Linked DNA regions of Homo sapiens: all the other regions are linked to region 1. The links are contacts of gene promoters, found by promoter capture Hi-C in human tissues and cell types (Jung and others, 2019). All regions are on one chromosome and are shown on one strand. The core of a region is centred on a gene start or on the middle of the fragment in contact, and the rest is flanking DNA. Distances in the headings are between cores, read along the strand shown.

What was found. The method cuts DNA at HindIII sites, captures the fragments that hold promoters and counts their contacts. A contact is called where the count stands out against the background at its distance.
Region 2: a fragment that was not itself captured here is called in contact with the fragment with the promoter of DDIT4L in region 1 in 2 of the 25 tissues and cell types used here (H1 embryonic stem cells and dorsolateral prefrontal cortex).
Region 3: a contact is called between a fragment that was not itself captured here and the fragment with the promoter of DDIT4L in region 1, in 2 of the 25 tissues and cell types used here (pancreas and spleen).

The regions. Positions count from the first base shown.
Region 1 is chr4:100,189,206-100,191,728 of GRCh38, reverse strand. DDIT4L (DNA damage inducible transcript 4 like) reads left to right here and starts at 1,261. Exons shown (of 3, transcript NM_145244.4): 1 at 1,261-1,426; 2 at 1,697-1,836. The coding sequence starts at 1,746. DDIT4L-AS1 (DDIT4L antisense RNA 1) reads right to left here and starts at 1,696. Exons shown (of 5, transcript NR_125924.1): 1 at 1,655-1,696. The HindIII fragment of the contact is 5,141 bases long and covers 1-2,523 here.
Region 2 is chr4:100,284,235-100,286,757 of GRCh38, reverse strand. No RefSeq gene overlaps it. Among named protein-coding and RNA genes, the nearest start is that of DDIT4L, 95 kb to the right of the region's middle. The HindIII fragment of the contact is 3,637 bases long and covers 1-2,523 here.
Region 3 is chr4:100,255,645-100,258,167 of GRCh38, reverse strand. No RefSeq gene overlaps it. Among named protein-coding and RNA genes, the nearest start is that of DDIT4L, 66 kb to the right of the region's middle. The HindIII fragment of the contact is 7,611 bases long and covers 1-2,523 here.

The DNA of each region.
Region 1 (2,523 bases), core at 12-2,511:
TTTTTCTAAGAGTTTTATGCCAGGACAGCTGAAACTGCCTTTCAAGGTTCTAACCTGCAAATCCTTCTACACATAATCCTAGAGGGCCTGGGAGCCAACACTGGGATCTCTACTGTAGGAACAACCTTCTCCCTCCAGGCATCCCCTAACGCACCCCAAGCTGACTCTCTGAACAGATCATCTCCTACTGGCACACCAAAGCGAGAAAACCGTGGCTTAATAACTTTGGAAGAAAAAAATCAGGTTTGGCTTCTTGCTCATGGGCTATGCGGGCATGTTGCCTCTTTCCAGGGCTCCTCTGCCTCTCTGTGTGTTCCTGTGCAGGACCGCACGGAGCCCTCACAGGGATTATCTGCTGATCCCCAGCAGAATATAAAACTCTTTATCTTCAGTCTCTGAAACCTCTTCAAAATATCCCAAACCAAAGATCCTCCCAACAGGGCTCGCCAGAAACTTCTGCCTCCGGAAATGACAGTTGCTCTCGATGCACGGATAGAGGAGTACCTAAGATCCTACTAATGGTATTGTGTGTTTCTTGGCAAACTCCCGCTCAATTCAAGCTCCCCGCGCTCTGGGGCAAGGTCTAATTAGAAGAGTGCCAGGCTCACCCTTCCTGCGAAGAAAACGCATTAGCCACAGATGTAAGTGCACGAAGAATGCCAGGGAGCCACGGAGTGCGTGGGGTCATTAAGGCCCTTCTTAAAATGCTGGCGAGCCTTCGATGCGGGAAAGGAAAACTAGATCTGACCGCTTGCAGCAGAGGAGGATACAGAAACCCTGGGAGGCAGAGTAGAGTTGACTGGGTTAGAGGCCAGAAATAAGTGCATAAATGATGCTCAGTGGACGTTGCAACAGATTTAAGCCAAGTGTTCAGGATGACACAGCAAAGCCCCAGGACAAGGAAATGCACAGATCGCTTAAAGCTTCCCGCTGCCGGGAGCAGCCTGAGTGTGAAAGCGCGGACGCTCGGGGAGGGGTCGCACTGAACAATCAGGTTCAGGCTTTGACGAGTCGTGCACCCGGAATTGCGGTCCCAGTGGCCCGAGATCTACCCTGGAAGCAACAGGTGTCCGCTCTACCACAGGCTTATCCTCAACTCCCTGTGGCTAGGCTCGGGCTCCCTGGAAGTGTAGAGGTTGAAAGGGGACCAGACTCTGGAGGGGAGGGGCGGGGCGCTGGCCGGGGAGGGGCGGTGCAGGTGGGCGGGCCTGAGCAGGGTGGGGACTGGACCTATAAAGTTCTCGCTGCCCCGGAGGCTATGCTACTGCGAGGAGCCGGCGCAGGGTGGCCCGGGAGGGGTGAGCAGGGTGCCGCTGGCTGCTGGGGTCTGCAGGTCACCGAGTCCCCAGGAGAGGGGACTCCTAAGAAGCCACCTGCCTGTGTTTACCCGGCAGCGAGCGCGCAGGCCCCCGCGAACTCCTGGCAGGTGAGCGAAGCTGCGGCCTTGGTGGGGGCAGCGGGGCCGGGGGGCGCTCCGCGGGGCAGGTCGCTTCCAAGTTTTGCGAACTGTTGAGTTAGTTTCAGGTTGCGGCTCCGCTCCCAGGGCTTTGTCAAATTGAGTTGCAGAGGCCGGTTCCACCCCTTTGGCAAAGGAGTTCCTCCGCTAGTTCGCTCCCGGGACGCCGGGCATTTTAGGAGCCTCTGCACGACTCGCCTGCTTTTGCAAATCCGTCTCTTCTCGCCTCATTTTTTCCAGCGCTCAGGAAAGGCCGTTGCGCCTCGCGAAGGAAACAGAGCCGTTGACCATGGTTGCAACTGGCAGTTTGAGCAGCAAGAACCCGGCCAGCATTTCAGAATTGCTGGACTGTGGCTATCACCCAGAGAGCCTGCTAAGTGGTGAGTGTCCCCGCTGTCCACCCTTCTCCCCTCCCAAGGTCGGTGCCTCTGGATCTATTGGGTGGGCGGGCTTTCGACTTCCTCCCCTACCTCTATGTAGGAGGTGCCACAAAATCCATCTGAGGAGACTCCTTTCCAAATTTTCTAACATCTTCTCTCCATGATAGAAACAAAAGTAGCAAAAGTAGAATACCCGAGGGCTGCATCTTTCTAGTCTGGTGCCAGTAGGCCCCTTGGGATTAAGTTCCTTATCTTACATGATTGTGAAGAACACAGTTATGTGTGTTTTAGCAAATGTATTTACCCTGTAATCAATATCGCCCCTCCCCCTGAATTCCGACGCACCTATTTGCCAGGTATTCCTCACTCTCCCCTGACTCCAGGGAACTACTGATCTGATTTTTATCATTCCAAGTTAGTTTTGCCTTTAGGTAAGTGGAACCATACAGTAGGTATTCTTTTGTGTCTGGTTTCTTTCCCGCAGCCTAATGTTTTTGAGATTCTTTTATGTCCGTTGCTTAAATCAGTGTGTTCGTGTTTATTGTTTATTACTGAGTAGGATTTTCAGTCGTGGATATATCCATTATTCCATTTTTAATGTGAGAAGGAAACTGTTGAACAGCAGCGGTGCTTGACTTGCTGTCATTTGGAATTTTAACAGCAGTTTCTAGGTGAACACACTGCTCT
Region 2 (2,523 bases), core at 9-2,508, 95 kb before region 1:
CCATCTGGCCTGAAGGCCCCCTCCCTCCTTGCAAGCAGTATTGTAGCAACCAAATGACTTTTCAGCAACAACACACTCTCCGCTCTAAAATGTATTTTCTTCACTTGCAACATTCCTAATACTGATGGGGAAGTTTGGCTTAATGAGCCCCAAAAGGCAGCCTTTACATAGCTTACTGAATTCTAATGAGATAATTAAACCAGATAGCACAAATCTTTATTTATTTTTGCAGATATAAAACAAAGAGTGATATTATGTTATGTGCAACTAACATTCCATAAGCAAAGCATTTCCAAACACTTCACAAACTTAATAATTTAAAATTAAGCCCGAACTCAGAAATTAGTACTTGCTTTGGTCCAGATTCTGGAGTTGTCATATGATATTTTATAAGAATTTACAGAAAATAAATACAAAAATCTTCATTCATGCATACATTTAGGGAATAAATATTTATTCCACACCCACTTTTTGTGCTAGCCACTATTCTGGGCATCCAATTGTAGTAAGGTTCTAAGATCAATTTCAAGTTATGATTTAAATATTTAAGATAAACAAATGGTAACAACAAATATATATATATGTATATATATGTATATATATATGATTTAGACTAAAAAATATAGACTGACAGTTTCTATTTTTTGTTTATTTTCCCTGACCTCACCATTCCATCATGGGTAACCAGTCAGAAATGTGCACTTTTTTGTGTGCTTTTTGTTTTACGTATTTTATGACTCTTTCAACTGTGGAAAGATTTGCAAAGTAGAGTAAGAATTAGTTTTCAGGAAGTAGTTTTGACATGCAAATCAAAAGCAGAGGCCTATCAATATGGCTGCTTCTTCAGTGCTGAAGCCCTTTTCATAAGAAAAAAATTGTTTAAACTTAAGGTAAAAAGCACTGGAATTTAGTGCATTGCTATTCCAGAAAACTTTTCATAAAAAATGGGACAATTTTCATTGTCAAAAAGTTTTCTTAAAACATTGAGACAATAGTTTTTTTGTGAAAGCATGTTGGTGATTGCTAGGGCTTGGGGAGAGAGGAGAACGGGAAGAAGAAGAAAAAAAAAACATTGAGACAAAAAGATTTAAAGAAAACATTTGTAACCGGGAAAAACTGGTTAATTCTTTTTTTCTTTTTTTTCATGTAAACTAAAAAATACGTAACTTTCTCATACAGAGTTTTTTCATTTCTTTTGTACAAATGTTTAAAAGATTGCTTAAACTACCCTATATGTTTTTAATTTTCCATCATTTTCTATCTTAGTTGCCAAAGCCTTGTCATTTGTTCTCTTTGGGAAGAGGACTGAAAATGAGTTAGATGAGAAAATAAGCGAGGGTTAAATATTGCCTCTTCCTCTTCTCTTCTTTCCTCATTCCTAATTGATTTCTTCTGGGAATCAGTGGATCCTATTGATATTCCCAGGACAGGCTTCTGGCAAGTCAGTGTTAACCAACAGTATCACAAAGCAATGCTGGACTGCTCTATACAACAGCAAGCACCAGATGGAAAAGCGAAACACTTAAACATCTGGAAATTCTCAGAAAATTGTTTCACCTGAACAAATTATCTGAATTATTAGAAATGAAGCTTTTGCTTTCCACTTGGATGTGTGTTTTTATAATAGTTGTTGGGCTAGAAAGAATGTCTTAGTGAACCTACAATGACCTCCTCAGTTTAGCTTTCTCCAAGAGGAAGACATAAATTAACCAAGGTTGATTGGGACAATAGTATTATAACATCAACTATTTTGATATCTTTCATCACAGCAGGTAGACATGCAAGAAAGACAGGTGTGATGAATGCCCTATCTTGTGCCATTCTACCACGTTTCTCTGCCTTAAACATTATTAGCAATTTTAGCCACACACACACGCACACACACACACGCACGCGCGCATCTCAGAGATGTGTTTAAGTCAAATGTCAATAAGAGAAGATTAAGTTATTACATTTAGTGACAATTTCCACTATAGAATTTACCAAAGTACCTTTTCAACTATAATGTCAGCTTAAGTTGGACAAATTTCACTTTGGAAAATATTAACAGTAACCATATTTTTGGCTGGAGTTTACTGACATCAAGACACTCTACTGATGAGGACTATACATACCAGAAAGCTCTCCAAGGAAGACCCTGTATCCAATTTTGGGAATCGGAGGGCCCGAAGGTGAGCCTGAGGAAGGCAAGTTCTGAAATCTGAGCCCTGAGTCACAAATCCACATGCTGATCTGAGTCAATGTTAAGTGATCTAGGAAGCCAGGTGCAGTCTCAGGGAATGGGGCTGGGAGCAACTAGACTAGGGAAACCAGAGAGCAAATTATGGCTAGAATCTGGGCCCAGAAGGAAAATGCAGTGAGGAGAAACCCAGTCAAAGGCAAATGAAGCAGATGACTATGAATATTGAATAAGGAAGCTGCAATAGGATCCAACTGTTACATGGCACATGGCAGCAGGCCGTGCATTCACACCAGACACCGAAGACTGGGTTTCACACTACATTCACTGATAAGAACACAGCC
Region 3 (2,523 bases), core at 14-2,513, 66 kb before region 1:
CCCTATATTATGCACTGGATAAACAGTGGACAAGAAAGACAAAATCCCTACTTTTGTGGAACTTCTATTGTCTCGGGAGAACAGAAAACAAGCAAAATAACTATTTCATATATATATATGTATATATATTTATTTATATATATGTATTTCATATATATATGAAGGTGATCAATTCTATGAAGAAAATTAAAATAAAATATGAAAAGGGGGGAGGAATGCAATTATAAATGGAGCTGGCATCAGGGAGGTGTCACTGAATGAATGACATTTCAGCAAAAACCTCAAGGAAGCAGGGAGCTAGCCACATGAGTCAGTGAGGCAAGGGGCTGTTCACATGAGGAAGTGACAGAGCTAGCTACACCTAGGAAGGGAGGGAGCTAGCAACATGACAATGTGAGGAGATAGCCTTGCTGAGTCAGGGAGGGGCCTGGTCACACTGAGGAAGAAAAGGAGAAGCCACCTCTGTGAGGAAGTGAAGGAGCTAGCTGTACCGAGGAAGTGAGGAAGCTGGCCACACTAATGAAGTTAAGTAGCTAGCCATACTCAGAAAGGGAGGGAGATAACCATACCTGTATCTAGAGAGAGGACATTCCAGATAGAAGCAATCATAAATGCAATTATCCTGAGACAAAACATCCCCAGCAGGTTTAGAGAAAGCAAGCAATGTGTAAAATAATGCCATTTCTGTAAAGTATGTGGTGTGTGTACAAAGAGGTACACGAAGAAATATTTACTAATAGAAATGTATCTCTGACTTGTAAGATTTCAGTTACTTGTTATCCTTGTCTTCAAATGTTCCGATTTGTTTGAATTCTTCCTAATGGTGGTGTATTATTTCATAATCATAAGAAATGCTTTTTTTCTTTATGGAAAAAAATTGAATTGGCGCATGTTCACATATGTATTTAGTGACTCAACAGACTGCTAACTCTCTCTCTATCCATTCTTCCTAAGTAATAAACACCCCAGTATACATTATCTACTTGCTCACTTAAACAGTTTTAGTTTCTAACAACTACTTTACCCAGACTCTTTTCCTGCTAGGCATAGGCATGTGAGTAGGTTTGTCAAATAATCTGTAAGTGAAAGGATTATGGATGATTCAAGATAAATGGCCTTAATGGTGGGCCCTTCATAGGCTTTTCCACCTTCTCTTCCTACTGCTGGCCTGGAATCGGACATAATCACTGGTGCACAAACACTTTCTTGGGACATAAGGATGAGGGTCTTGTCCTAGGGATGTCAGAAACAACTTCATAAAGCACCTTACCAGCCCACTCGTGCATTAAGACTTCTTTCGTAGCAAGAATAAGATCTTACATAATAAAACCACTCTTATTTTGGTGGTTTTCGAACACTTGCAGCTGAATTCAATTCTAGCTAATGTTATACACAAGACGGTATTCAACCTATGTCTCCTTTGACCATATTTAGTGCTCTTGCCATTATGCCACAGTTGTCCCTTGCACCAGAAGCAGATCTTGGAAGAGCAGATAAGTAAGTTGAGAATTTGGGTTGCACCAAAACTTGAGAGAGCCACGTGCAGTTGTGTGCTAGAGGAAATATTCAAAAGGTTATGGATCAACTAGAAGCAATTAGAAATAACAGAATTTACTAACAAGCCAAATTAATATTTCAAAAGACCAAAGCTTTCCTTTATACCAAGAATACCCAGTTAGAAAAAAACCAATAGTAGCAAAATTTATAAAATAACTACCTAAGAAATAAAAAAGGAAATGTGCAAACTTACAAGAAGAAAACCACAAAACTTTAACAAATGAATAAAATGGGCTAAAGAGATAGTCTAAATAGTTCTTTAAAAGTAATTACAAAAGAGAAAACTCAAATATTATAAAAAAATAAAAGTCCCTTCTTTACAATAATAAAAGATACTTAAAAGTTAAAGTACTTATAGATGCATAATATTGATGCAGAAATTAACAAATAGATTAAAGGAAAAGAGTACAGCCCAGAAGCAGATTCATATGTACATGAATAGTTTATGTATAATCAAAGCAGCACTTCAAATTAGAGGAAAAATAATGAATTATTTAATCAATGATATTGAGAAACTATATTCATATGGAAGAAAATAAGGTTAGAGCCTCACCTCATTCCAAATATTAAAATAAATCTCAGGTTGCTTAAAGTTTTAAATATAAAAAAGCTCAAAAAGCACTAGAAGAAAATGTACAGAAAATATAACTAGAAGGAATAGAATGCCTTTCCAAGAAAGACAAGAAACCCAGAAGCCATAAAGGAAAAAAAAAAATGTGAACAAGACTGTATAGACTTTAATTCTGTTTGACAAAGTTGCTGTAAATATGTTAAAGGACAAACAGCAAATTGAAGAAAATATTCTAATATGGAAGTGGACAAAAGCTAACTTACCTAACACACACAGAGTGTCTTCAAATCCATAAGGAAAAAGCAAAGGTAAAAAATATAAACATGTAACTCAAAAAAAAGAAAATAAAAATTCTCAAACTTACTAGTAAATATACAAGACATGAAAATTAAAAC